Linked DNA regions of Homo sapiens: regions 1 and 2 are each linked to region 3. Evidence: promoter capture Hi-C in human tissues and cell types (Jung and others, 2019). All regions are on one chromosome and are shown on one strand. Each heading gives the region's core, a stretch centred on a gene start or on the middle of the fragment in contact. The rest is flanking DNA. Distances are from core to core; before and after follow the strand shown. Region 1 overlaps LRRIQ1 (leucine rich repeats and IQ motif containing 1). Region 2 overlaps LINC02820 (long intergenic non-protein coding RNA 2820). Region 3 holds the start of ALX1 (ALX homeobox 1).

Region 1 (3,329 bases), core at 533-3,032, 53 kb after region 3:
CCAAACTTTGGCCAACCAGTTCCATCTGTGCTAAACATTTTATCACAAGAAAGAAAAAAAAATACTAACTTATGAGAGCTAAATCTGTAAGAAAACTAATGTCAGTAAGAAAAGTAATGTCAGTCACAGATTAACTGTTTTTCCTGCTTAGGTTTCAAACCCATCTATTTTGAAAAAAATACTTAAAATCAATCACCATTTATAGGGTTTGTTTTTGAGTTTTTAATTAGAAAAATCAGAGAGTTATTTTTTGGTAGACTGTAGAATTTTTCTAATATAAAAACATCTGTTCCCTATCTGTCTTTTCAGGATTAAAGTCTAATTGTTTTTATACCACTCTTATCCATATGGAGAATTTATAAATTATATTGAGTGTTTTTGAACCTGAATTTTCATTTACATAAAACTGAGCTTGCTTTGTGTAAGCTACTATAGTATTTCATACATATCAGAGTTACACTGAAGACTAGTTGTTTTAAAGCCTTCCTCCATGGACTTGATCTTTTAGACTGCTCCATTTTTGGTTTAGGGCTTGTTGGCTTCATAAACTTGATTGACAGTACACCAGAGGGAGACACCTCTTAAAACCTAAATCGCAGTAATCAACTCAGAACAATTCTGTAGTTTAAAAACCTGAAAATTTAAAGTCAATTTATTACTTTGAAATATTCTTTTGTTATAGATGTTTGTACATAAAAAGTCTACATATTTGCAAGTTGTTTGGAAAATGAATAAAGCATGGTGCAAAACCTATTTTGAATACTCTGTGCATGTACGTGCAGACACACATACATACAAGCTTAGCATGTGTCATTCAGAATATGTTGTGGATGATATATCTAACATGTCTTTCTTCTTTAAAAGTTACTGTTGTAATTAGTGAAATGACTCTAGTTTTCAATTTAAACAGATGTTGAAGCCAGGTCTCTGGAAAGCGTAAAATCTGGATGCTTTGGGTATCTAAAACTCTGTTACTTAGTAAAGTTCCTATTGCTTCTTATGCGACCTTATGTTTCTAAAATGACTTCAGCCCTTGAAACCTGAACTTAGGCCAACTCTTCCATAGTTGCTACAATTAGAGGAACACTTACTTCACATGAGGGGATTGGCCATTGAATCCATGAGCAGACTCCATTTTCATAAATAGCCTTATAATTATACAAAAGTTCTTTGTAGATTCTGGATATTAGCCCCTTGTCAGATGGGTAGATCGTAAAAATTTTCTCCCATTCTGTAGGTTGCCTGTTCACTCTGATGGTAGTTTCTTTTGCTGTGCAGAAGCTGTTTAGTTTAATTAGATCCCATTGGTCAATTTTGGCTTTTGTTGCCATTGCTTTTGGTGTTTTAGTCATGAAGTCCTTGCCCATGCCTATGTCCTGAATGGTATTGCCAAGGTTTTCTTCTAAGGTTTTTATGGTTTTAGGTCTAATATTTAAGTCTTTAATCCATCTTGAATTGATTTTTGTATAAGGTGTAAGGAAGGGATCCAGTTTCAGCTTTCCACATATTGCTAGCCAGTTTTCCCAGCATCATTTATTAAATAGGGAATCTTTTCCCCATTTCTTGTTTTTGTCAGGTTTGTCAAAGATCAGATGGTTGTAGATGTGTGGTATTATTGCTGAGGGCTCTATTCTGTTCCATTAGTCTATATCTCTGTTTTGGTACCAGTACCATGCTGTTGTGGTTATTGTAGCCTTGTAGTATAGTTTGAAGTCAGGTAGCGTGATGCCTCCAGCTTTGTTCTTTTGGCTTAGGATTGTGTTGGCAATGCGGGCTCTTTTTTGGTTCCATATGAACTTTAAAGTAGGTTTTTCCATTTCTGTGAAGAAAGTCATTGGTAGCTTGATGGGGATGGCATTGAATCTATAAATTACCTTGGGCAGTATGGCCATTTTCACGATACTGATTCTTCCTATTCATGAGAACTTAAACAAATTTACAAGAAAAAATCAAACAACCCCATCAAAAAGTGGGCGAAGGATATGAACAGATACTTCTCAAAAGAAGACATTTATGCAGCCAATAGACAAATGAAAAAATGCTCATCATCATTGGCCATCAGAGAAATGCAAATCTACCTAATACTAAATGACGAGTTAATGGGTGCAGCACACCAACATGGCACATGTATACATATGTAACAAACCTGCACATTGTGCACATGTACCCTAAAACTTACAGTATATAAAAAAAAAGAAATGCAAATCAAAACCACAATGAGATACCATCTCACACCAGTTAGAATGGTGATCATTAAAAAGTCAGGCAACAACAGGTGCTGGAGAGGATGTGAAGAAATAGGAACACTTTTACACTGTTGGTGGGACTGTAAACTAGTTCAACCATTGTGGAAGACAGTGTGGCGATTCCTCAAGGATCTAGAACTAGAAATACCATTTGAAATACCATTTGACCCAGACATCCCATTACTGGGCATATACCCAAAGGATTATAAATCATGCTGCTATAAAGACACATGCACATGTATGTTTATTGTGGCACTATTCCCAATAGCAAAGACTTAGAACCAATCCAAATGTCCATCAATGATAGACTGGATTAAGAAAATGTGGCACATATACACCATGGAATACTATGCAGCCATAAAAAAGGATGAGTTCATGTCCTTTATAGGGACATGGATGCAGCTGGAAACCATCATTCTGAGCAAACTATCACAAGGACAGAAAACCAAACACCGCATGTTCTCACTCATAGGTGGGAATTGAACAATGGGAACACATGGAAAAGATGGGGAATATCACACACCGGGGCCTGCTGGGGGGTGGGGGGAGGGGGGAGGGATGGCATTAGGAGATATACCTAATGTAAATGACGAGTTAATGGGTGCAGCACACCAACATGGCACATGTATACATATGTAACAAACCTGCACGTTGTGCACATGTACCCTAGAACTTAAAGTAAAAAAAAAAAAAAAAAGGAAGTAGAAAAAAAATAATTATACAAAAGTTATAAGACACACTCAAACAAAGGGAAGATTTGGCATTGCTACACACTGCATTGGGTCTCCTTTCTAGCAAAACCCCAGCTACTGATCTGGTTTCCTTAGTGACCAGGCCAGATGTTGGACAGCACAGTGACAGAAAACAGTGATGACTCAGTGACCCTGATGATCAACTGAGCCCAAGACTTGAAACTCACCTACTCCTGATATGGAGAGAATCCTTTTGTAATAAGCAAACTTTTAGTTAAAACAGAAATAATCTCAGTCTTCCTGTTCTTAAAAATAGTGACATATACTTGCAATGGTCACTTTTTAAAGTACTCATTTTGGAAAGCTTTCCTCAATTCTACAATAACACTTC
Region 2 (3,666 bases), core at 551-3,050, 59 kb before region 3:
TCTGTGAGAGAGGGTGGCAGGCCATTAACAGCGGAATCATGATGGTATTACAGTTCTCTTCATCTATCAATGGCTCCTATTCATTGCATTGACTTTGCATCATTTTCTTCATATACACAACTCCTTATACTAGCTGTCATAATTCTCAATTTACACATGCATAAACAGAGACTTGGGAGTTTAACCAACTCACTCAAGGCTATAGTTAATAAGTAGCAAAACCAGGCATTCAATTCATATGCATTTCAATACAAATTCTAATTCATCTCATTATTCCATTTCATGTTGGCCTATAGAATGAAACAAGTAGAAAGGAAATTCTATTTCATAGATAGTAAACTACCACTTTCCCCAAAAAGTCACTTTTTTTCATTAAAGTAAGGTCTTCTATAATGTTTTCTGCAATAAAAAGTCATATCATAGTATTTTTATATTGGTTAGTTTTATTTCATTGGTTAACTGCAATAAACTGTTCAACTGATGTCTGTGTGATAAAGATGCAACATAATTTACCCTTTTACTACCTCAATGATTTTATGCTTAGTAACTGACCTGAATGTATAGAAAAGTGTTTTATACATTATGTATTATTAAAAAATATATAGGCTGGTATATACTTTAAAATAATCTCAATATGTTAGTAACATATCATCTTATTGAATCATACATTTTATAAATGCTATAACTATATACAATGTGCAAAATATAATACAAATTTTGACTTCAATATTTCTTAAGTAGTTCATATATTTTTCTAAATGAAGTATTTTTTCTATAAATGTAAACTGTTCAATTTTTTATGTTTTCCTCATTTCAGAGATTTTCCTGCAATTTCACTTCAAGTATTGATGCAAGTACAGCTGTGGTTTTTAAGGAGGTGTATACATGACTTATTGTACAAAATTTATCCATCATATGCTATTCACATATTTCAAGAATTAAAATACAGAAGAATGACAGTGGCAAAATGTATTTGACACTCGATAGGACTCCAGGAATGCAACATGCATAAGGAAAAGTTGTAGTCAACCTACCTAAACATCAACATGAGGAATTCCTCTGTATAACCTTCTGTTCAGACAAGCACATCGATGTTTAAGATTTGAGTTCTCAGCTAGGTTTAATATTGAATATACACACTATATTGAAAAGACATTACTAAAACAACTGAAATATAAAAACAGTATAATTTACTTCTCTTTTCATAAATCACTTTTTCTAATGAGTTTGACATTCCTACATTGATCCTCTGGCACAAAAGGACCTTCAGAAAGCACAGAACATTTTATGTTCCTTCTTTAAAAACTTAGTTGATTATCTTTACCCTCAGAATAACATTAATTTTGTTTGTTTGTTTGTTTGTTTGTTTTAGATGGAGTTTTGCTCTTGTTTCCCAGGCTGGAGTGCAATGGCATGATCGCGGCTCACCGCAACCTCCACCTCCCTGGTTCAAGCGATTCTCCTGCCTCAGTCTCCCGAGTAGCTGGGATTACAGGCATGCACCACTACACCTGGCTAATTTTGTATTTTTAGTACAGACGAGGTTTCTCCATGTTGGTCAGGCTGGTCTCGAACTCTGGACCTCAGGTGATCCGCCCGCCTCAGCCTCCCAAAGTGCTGGGACTACAGGCATGAGCCACCGTGCCTGGTCTAAAACTCCTTTCCTACAGCATGCCCAATTCCCTCATGATGGGGCGTAACGCTTTTCCCAAACTTATCTTTCTCTATCATGGAACCACCATCATATTTATTGCACCCCAAACATTGCATATACAATAAAAAATATGTACATATTGTATAAACAAAACATAGAGTCTGCCAATAAAAAGTTAATTAAAATATATCAGAAATGCTAATTATACCCTCAATGCTTACCATGCATCAAATCCTAGCTTAAATGCAATACCTATGAAGTCATTCTATTTAGATCAGGCCTATCTCTTCACTCCCTCCTCTGTACTGCAATCACACTCCCATCAGACCTCTAATGTAATACATTATGCATTCCTTTGAAAGTTTTGGCTACATGCCTTACTCTCTCACTGGACTCTGAGTTCTACCAAGTAGAGACCATGTCTAATTTTTCCTTGGGTCCCTAGAACTCAACATAGAATTAATTCTTAATTTCATATCTGAAAAGATTGTCTTGTTGGAATGAAAACATTTCAGATTTTATAAAAATTGTATGGAATTTATGATATATAATATACAAGATGACAACAGTTTTCTGGGTCTTAAATATAAAATCACCATAGTAATATTTCTGCAGTGAAATATAATATACTAATCATTAGCGCTATTTACCAAATATTTATATTTCTCTTCCCTACTAGACACCCAGTAGGATTATACTTCTTGTGTTGGGGAGGAGCCATGTAACTAGTTCTGGTTGTCAGTGGAATCATGGTGTCATTTCTAAGTTCAAGTATCAATTATTAATGAAAAATCATCCAGAGCTTTCTCTACTCCTCTGACATGACAGCCAGCAGCATTTGTGACGGGCAGTCTATCAACCTAGCTTCTTAGGTGACTATGTCAAACCATAGTGGACACGTTGTTCTAAGCCCCTAGATTTGAGGGTTGTTTGTTACTACAGCATAACCTAGCTCATTCTGACATACACATGTAAGCATTTATACTGAGTTAACAAAAAAGACTATAATTATCATGTTATTTCGGAGCATGTTTTATAATCAAATTGTTTTTTATCATATTGAGTTTTTCTATCAAGTAGATTACAAAAAAAAACTCATTGTCTAAGTTTTTGGTTTTGGGAATTATGAAAAAGATGCTTTGAGTCAATACCCGTCAAACTTATAGCATACAATGTAGCAGGAAACAGCAGGTATTAAATTTTTTTAAAGGTAGAGTGGAATGTCCTTGATCATAAGAACATTAATGTTTTGATATTTATTTGCTTTTATTATTAAAATGTAATATGTAAATTATAAGAAATTAAATACTGTAGATCTACTATATTAATCTCTAGTTTGGTTTTTATGCTGATCGACGTGTAAAATGCAAAGACAAAACAGATTTATATAAGATACAGAAATGTAAGTTATATGAGGAAAATTTCTTACAGCCCTATTTTGAATTCTGTACTTACAAGTAAGATAAGAATATAAATCCTTGTTCTGTCTAAATAATTCTATTAGCTAAATTTATTGACTACCTATTCTGTGTAGGTACTATTTTAAACACTTTATATGTATTAACGTAGTAGGAAAGCATAAAAATTTACTCTGTGGAGTATTATTAAGCTAGTTTTATAATATTGGGTAAGGGAATGGAAGCAAAGAGGAGAGTAACATCTAACATCATAGAAATAGTAAGTGGGTCATATCCAGGTATGCTGACCCCAGAACCTGTGCCCTTAATAACTATATTATGGGAACTATGCAGAAACTCTAGACTTAAGGAAACAAAAAATACCTAGTAACATTACTTTCATTCTGTTTATCATGGAGCTTATTTTTCTTTCTTTCTTTCTTTCTTTTTTTTTTTTTTTTTTTTTGAGACGGAGTCTTGCTCTGTCACCCAGGCTGGAGTGCAGTGGCGCGATCTCGGCTCACTGCAACCTCCGCCTCACGGGTTCATGCCATTCTCCTGCCTCAGCCTCCCGAGCAACTGGGACTACAGGCGCCCACCACCACGCCCAGCTAA
Region 3 (3,853 bases), core at 1,163-3,662:
TGCACATAGTGAAATGGGAAGCACTTTTTAAAAAGTAAAGTCAAACCAGCCAGAATAATAATTTCCAATAGATGATCATACTTTTTTCATTTGTTTCTTTTTTTAAAATTACCCCCATAATGTATTTTTACAACTCTTTTCATCATTATACAAATATATTCAAGTTTAATGCGCATATAACTTCAATAGCTAATAATTGAGTACTGTGCATTTCAATGTCACTAACGGAGTAACTCTCAAAAATGTTCTCATAATAAAAAATGTCAAATATTTGAGGTGATGGCCAATTAACGTAATTTAATCATTCCACATTGCATTAAAAAAACTTAACATTACTTTGTACCCCATAAATATATACAACTATAATTTGTCTATATATATATATAACAAATTTTTTAAATTAACGGTTTTCATGCAAACGAAGATGTGATGTTAAACCAAATATAAAGAAGAGCCATGACTGATTAACAAACGGTTCTATCTCCTTGGGCAAAATTAAAGGGGGAACTGCAGCAATTAGGGATGGGGGAGGGGAAGCATCAGAGAGGCTAAGGGCATCTCAAGAGAAAGACAGGATCTCTCCTAAATTAAGCGGATGACTGCCTATGTTCATCTTCCTTAACACTTCTTTGTTATAATTCATCTTAATAGTGTGATATTTGTTTAAAAGTTGATAACGCATCAATTATGTCTCTTATTTTGGATTCTCGACTATTCAAAATAAAATATTATGATCAAGTCCATCCAGAGTCAATACAAGACATTGCAGAATCATTAAAGAAAGACCTGTCAATTCAAATAACGTTAGGCATGCACCTAAGAATTCCACAAATACAGATACCAGGTCTGAAACGCAGCCAGAAAACCAACAACTCAGTGTAAGAATAACAAAAAGTATACGCTCGAATCTTTCTAAATAAATGACTGAAACGACTTAGCTGATTATTTTCTCTATCATTTGCACCTTTATTTTTGATTTACCCTTAGTCAAAAGTTACTTGCAACGTTAAATAAAATTAGTTAAATATGAGATTAATAAAAGAAAAAAACTTGTGTTCAAAATATTTAGAAAATGAGCTTCTACAGGCCAGTGTTTTGTCAGATTTTGAATTTCTATAAAATAGGGGGCAGGGGGCTTGTTGTAAATATTTCACACTTAATTCGTTTGTTATTTTAAAGCAACCCGCCCCTTATAGCTTAACTGTGGAATATATACAATGATAAGGAGAAGTTCTCTTGGAATTGTAAACGTGCTTTAGCTGTCGCGATCTGAAATAATAGGTTAGTATTAGGTTACAAGATAGAAAAGATAGATGGTTTGTTTTGATAACATTTTGACTTGGAGATACTTGGGCATTCAAAGTTGAAGATTTCACCCAGAAGCATTCCAAAGACTCCTTAGGTGACTTTTAATGTGAAGTCATAAAAATACAAAACGTAGAATCTGGGAATGAGTGATTAGGCCGGGGATGGTTTGCCCGAAGCTATTTAGTGTGCTTTAGTGTTTAACAAACATTCAACGCGTGTTGTATTGCAAACGCAAAAAAAAGCAGAAATTACAAATTCACACACGCTAGAAATCTAGGGATCCTCAAACTTTGAAAATATATCGCCACGTCTTGGAAAATTAAAAAGATTTATCTTTACCTAAAGGAGCTCAAAGGGTTTTTTGTTTTTTGTTTTTGTTTTCCGGTTTTTTTTTCCCTACTCGTGACGACAGTGACGTACTCTAACGAGCTGTGATCGATTTCAGTTCCTACCGCCCGGACTGCAAGGCGGGCTCGCAGAGGAAGCGTTCTGTCTTGACTCAATTACGCTCTATTTAGCGCCCTATCAGTTTACTCCAGGAACCAATATTACAGAAGGACTCAGGGATCCGTAGGCGACCAGACCCTACAGCGAAAGGAGAATCGCTCAGAGGCAACCCGGTGCTGGATCTCTCCCTCCCTCCGCCCTCCGCCCCCAAAGGCTGCAGCAGCAGTAACACCGCTTCATAAAGCGAGCACCTTCCACTACCTTCCTCCACCTTCCAGGTCCCTCGCTCCCACTTTTCTCCTTTCTCCCTCCCTGCCTGATCAGACCGATCCTGCATTTTCGATTGCGGAAGGGCTGCGGCGGCTCCGGCTGGGGCGCTAGCGACTCACCGCTGCTGTCCTGACAGGGCGAGGTCCTCTCCAAGCGCACGTGATGCTCGGCGCGGGGCAGGGGTCCGAAGGCCTGCACGCATTTGCCTGCAGACGCTTTGCTGTAAAAGGACTCATTGTCCAGCGTCTCCATAACGTGCTCCAGAGGACCTCCTGCGCCCATGTAAAAGTCACTGTTTTTACTCGGAGGGCTCTTGAGGGCAAACTTCTCGCTCAGAAACTCCATAATCCTGGAAGACTGTCGCGTAGCTCCTGGGGCACAGAAACTGGAGAGCGCTGGGGGAGGGAGCCAGTGGGTGGGAGGAGGGAGGGCCAGAGAGGAGGGAAGGGAAAGCGAGCGCTGCGGCGTCGGGAACTGCCCCGCTCCGGTCCCTTTAATACGTCCCGGCTGGAAAAGGAGCACCCGAAGTTGCTTTTATATCTTGAAACTCAGCTGGCCTCCTCGGGCAGCCTCCCAGTTCTAATGAATATGAAAATAGGCGGGCGACTAACTCCACCCCAGGTCCCCCTCCGCCCCTACCCCACCCCCATTTTCCCCACTTACCCGGGCAGAGGGCGTCCAGGCCTAGGATAGACAGACAGACAGCTCCATTTCAGACAAATGCCAGGAGAGACGAGCCCCTGACACCCAGATTCATTGCCGCCGTGACAGTGGACTGGCATTTCGGAAGATCTTGGTGAGATCGCAAAGCAGTTAAACCTCCACTCCCTACTGCCTGCGCCTTCCTGAGCCACCCGTCCCCACCCCGCCCCCATGCCGGCCACTCACTACCAGAAAGATTTAGAGGCGTCTTAAGAACTTGAAAGGAAATATTGCTCTAAAAGGCTTTTATTTCATCCGTAAATCGTTTACGTGGAAGATTCACATTAATCCGAAGCCCAAGGAACCAGATGCATTGGCAACTGTTAATCGCAGCCGCCGTAGTAGAGGGGCCGCTTCGGCTTCTAACCGGGAGGAGCTCGGGGTCCGGGCCAGCTGGGAGCTTTACGAGGCCGTGGCCTTTTCTTTTTCTCTGGAATGCGGCGGAGTGTGGACGCGGTGGCGATGGGTGGGAGAGAGAAGCCGAGCAAGAGGCAATGAAGCCATTATACTAATGCCAACCAATTCCCTACACCCTCTTCGCCACCCTTCCCTTTGGTCCACGATTTTATCATTAGACCCAAATTATTTTAAGAAAACCCGTTAGGATCAGTGCCTTTGAAAGGCTTTTACTCTAATGCCAAAGTGAGGATTGTTACAAATAGGGGTTTATGAAGAAGAGGAATGTCTGCATATTTTTACAGAAATTACTTTTAATTTTAAAGAGTTGCTGTGGAGTTACTCCGAAAAGCGCTCTGGGAGTGAGTGGTGAGCGCGCGGAGCTGCGGGCACTCGCGGCGCGGCGTCCTGGGCGCGGACAGGTCCAAGGCCTCCATTTCCACCAGAGGGGATGGTAGGGCAGGCAGGACAGCACTGCTAGGTTGAAAGCCCTTCTGTGTGACTTTTGGCACGACTCTTGGCTTCCTAGGAGCCCGCGGCGCTTGGGGGAAATGCGTTCGGTGCCCTGGGCACAAAATCGCATTTGCGTCAGGCACCCTAAGCTAGCAAATTTGGTGAAAATAAGCCAGACAGGTTTTGGTCCAGGTAGGCCTCTGCTTAGACGTCCTGACACAGCCTTTGTCAACACTGGCACTCACAGCGGCCGTCGCGTTTCCCCAGACAAGTCTGG

The links. The method cuts DNA at HindIII sites, captures the fragments that hold promoters and counts their contacts. A contact is called where the count stands out against the background at its distance.
Region 1: a fragment that was not itself captured here is called in contact with the fragment with the promoter of ALX1 in region 3 in 3 of the 25 tissues and cell types used here (H1 embryonic stem cells, mesendoderm cells and thymus).
Region 2: a fragment that was not itself captured here is called in contact with the fragment with the promoter of ALX1 in region 3 in 3 of the 25 tissues and cell types used here (H1 embryonic stem cells, bladder and spleen).

Annotation. Positions count from the first base shown.
Region 1 is chr12:85,226,146-85,229,474 of GRCh38, reverse strand. All of the region lies in intron 24 of LRRIQ1 (leucine rich repeats and IQ motif containing 1), which reads right to left. Among named protein-coding and RNA genes, the nearest start is that of ALX1, 52 kb to the left of the region's middle. The HindIII fragment of the contact is 3,366 bases long and covers 100-3,329 here.
Region 2 is chr12:85,336,867-85,340,532 of GRCh38, reverse strand. All of the region lies in intron 1 of LINC02820 (long intergenic non-protein coding RNA 2820), which reads right to left. Among named protein-coding and RNA genes, the nearest start is that of LINC02820, 21 kb to the right of the region's middle. The HindIII fragment of the contact is 5,488 bases long and covers 1-3,666 here.
Region 3 is chr12:85,278,779-85,282,631 of GRCh38, reverse strand. ALX1 (ALX homeobox 1) reads right to left here and starts at 2,412. Exons shown (of 4, transcript NM_006982.3): 1 at 2,145-2,412. The coding sequence starts at 2,370. RefSeq lists a silencer at 2,027-2,321. The HindIII fragment of the contact is 12,363 bases long and covers 1-3,853 here.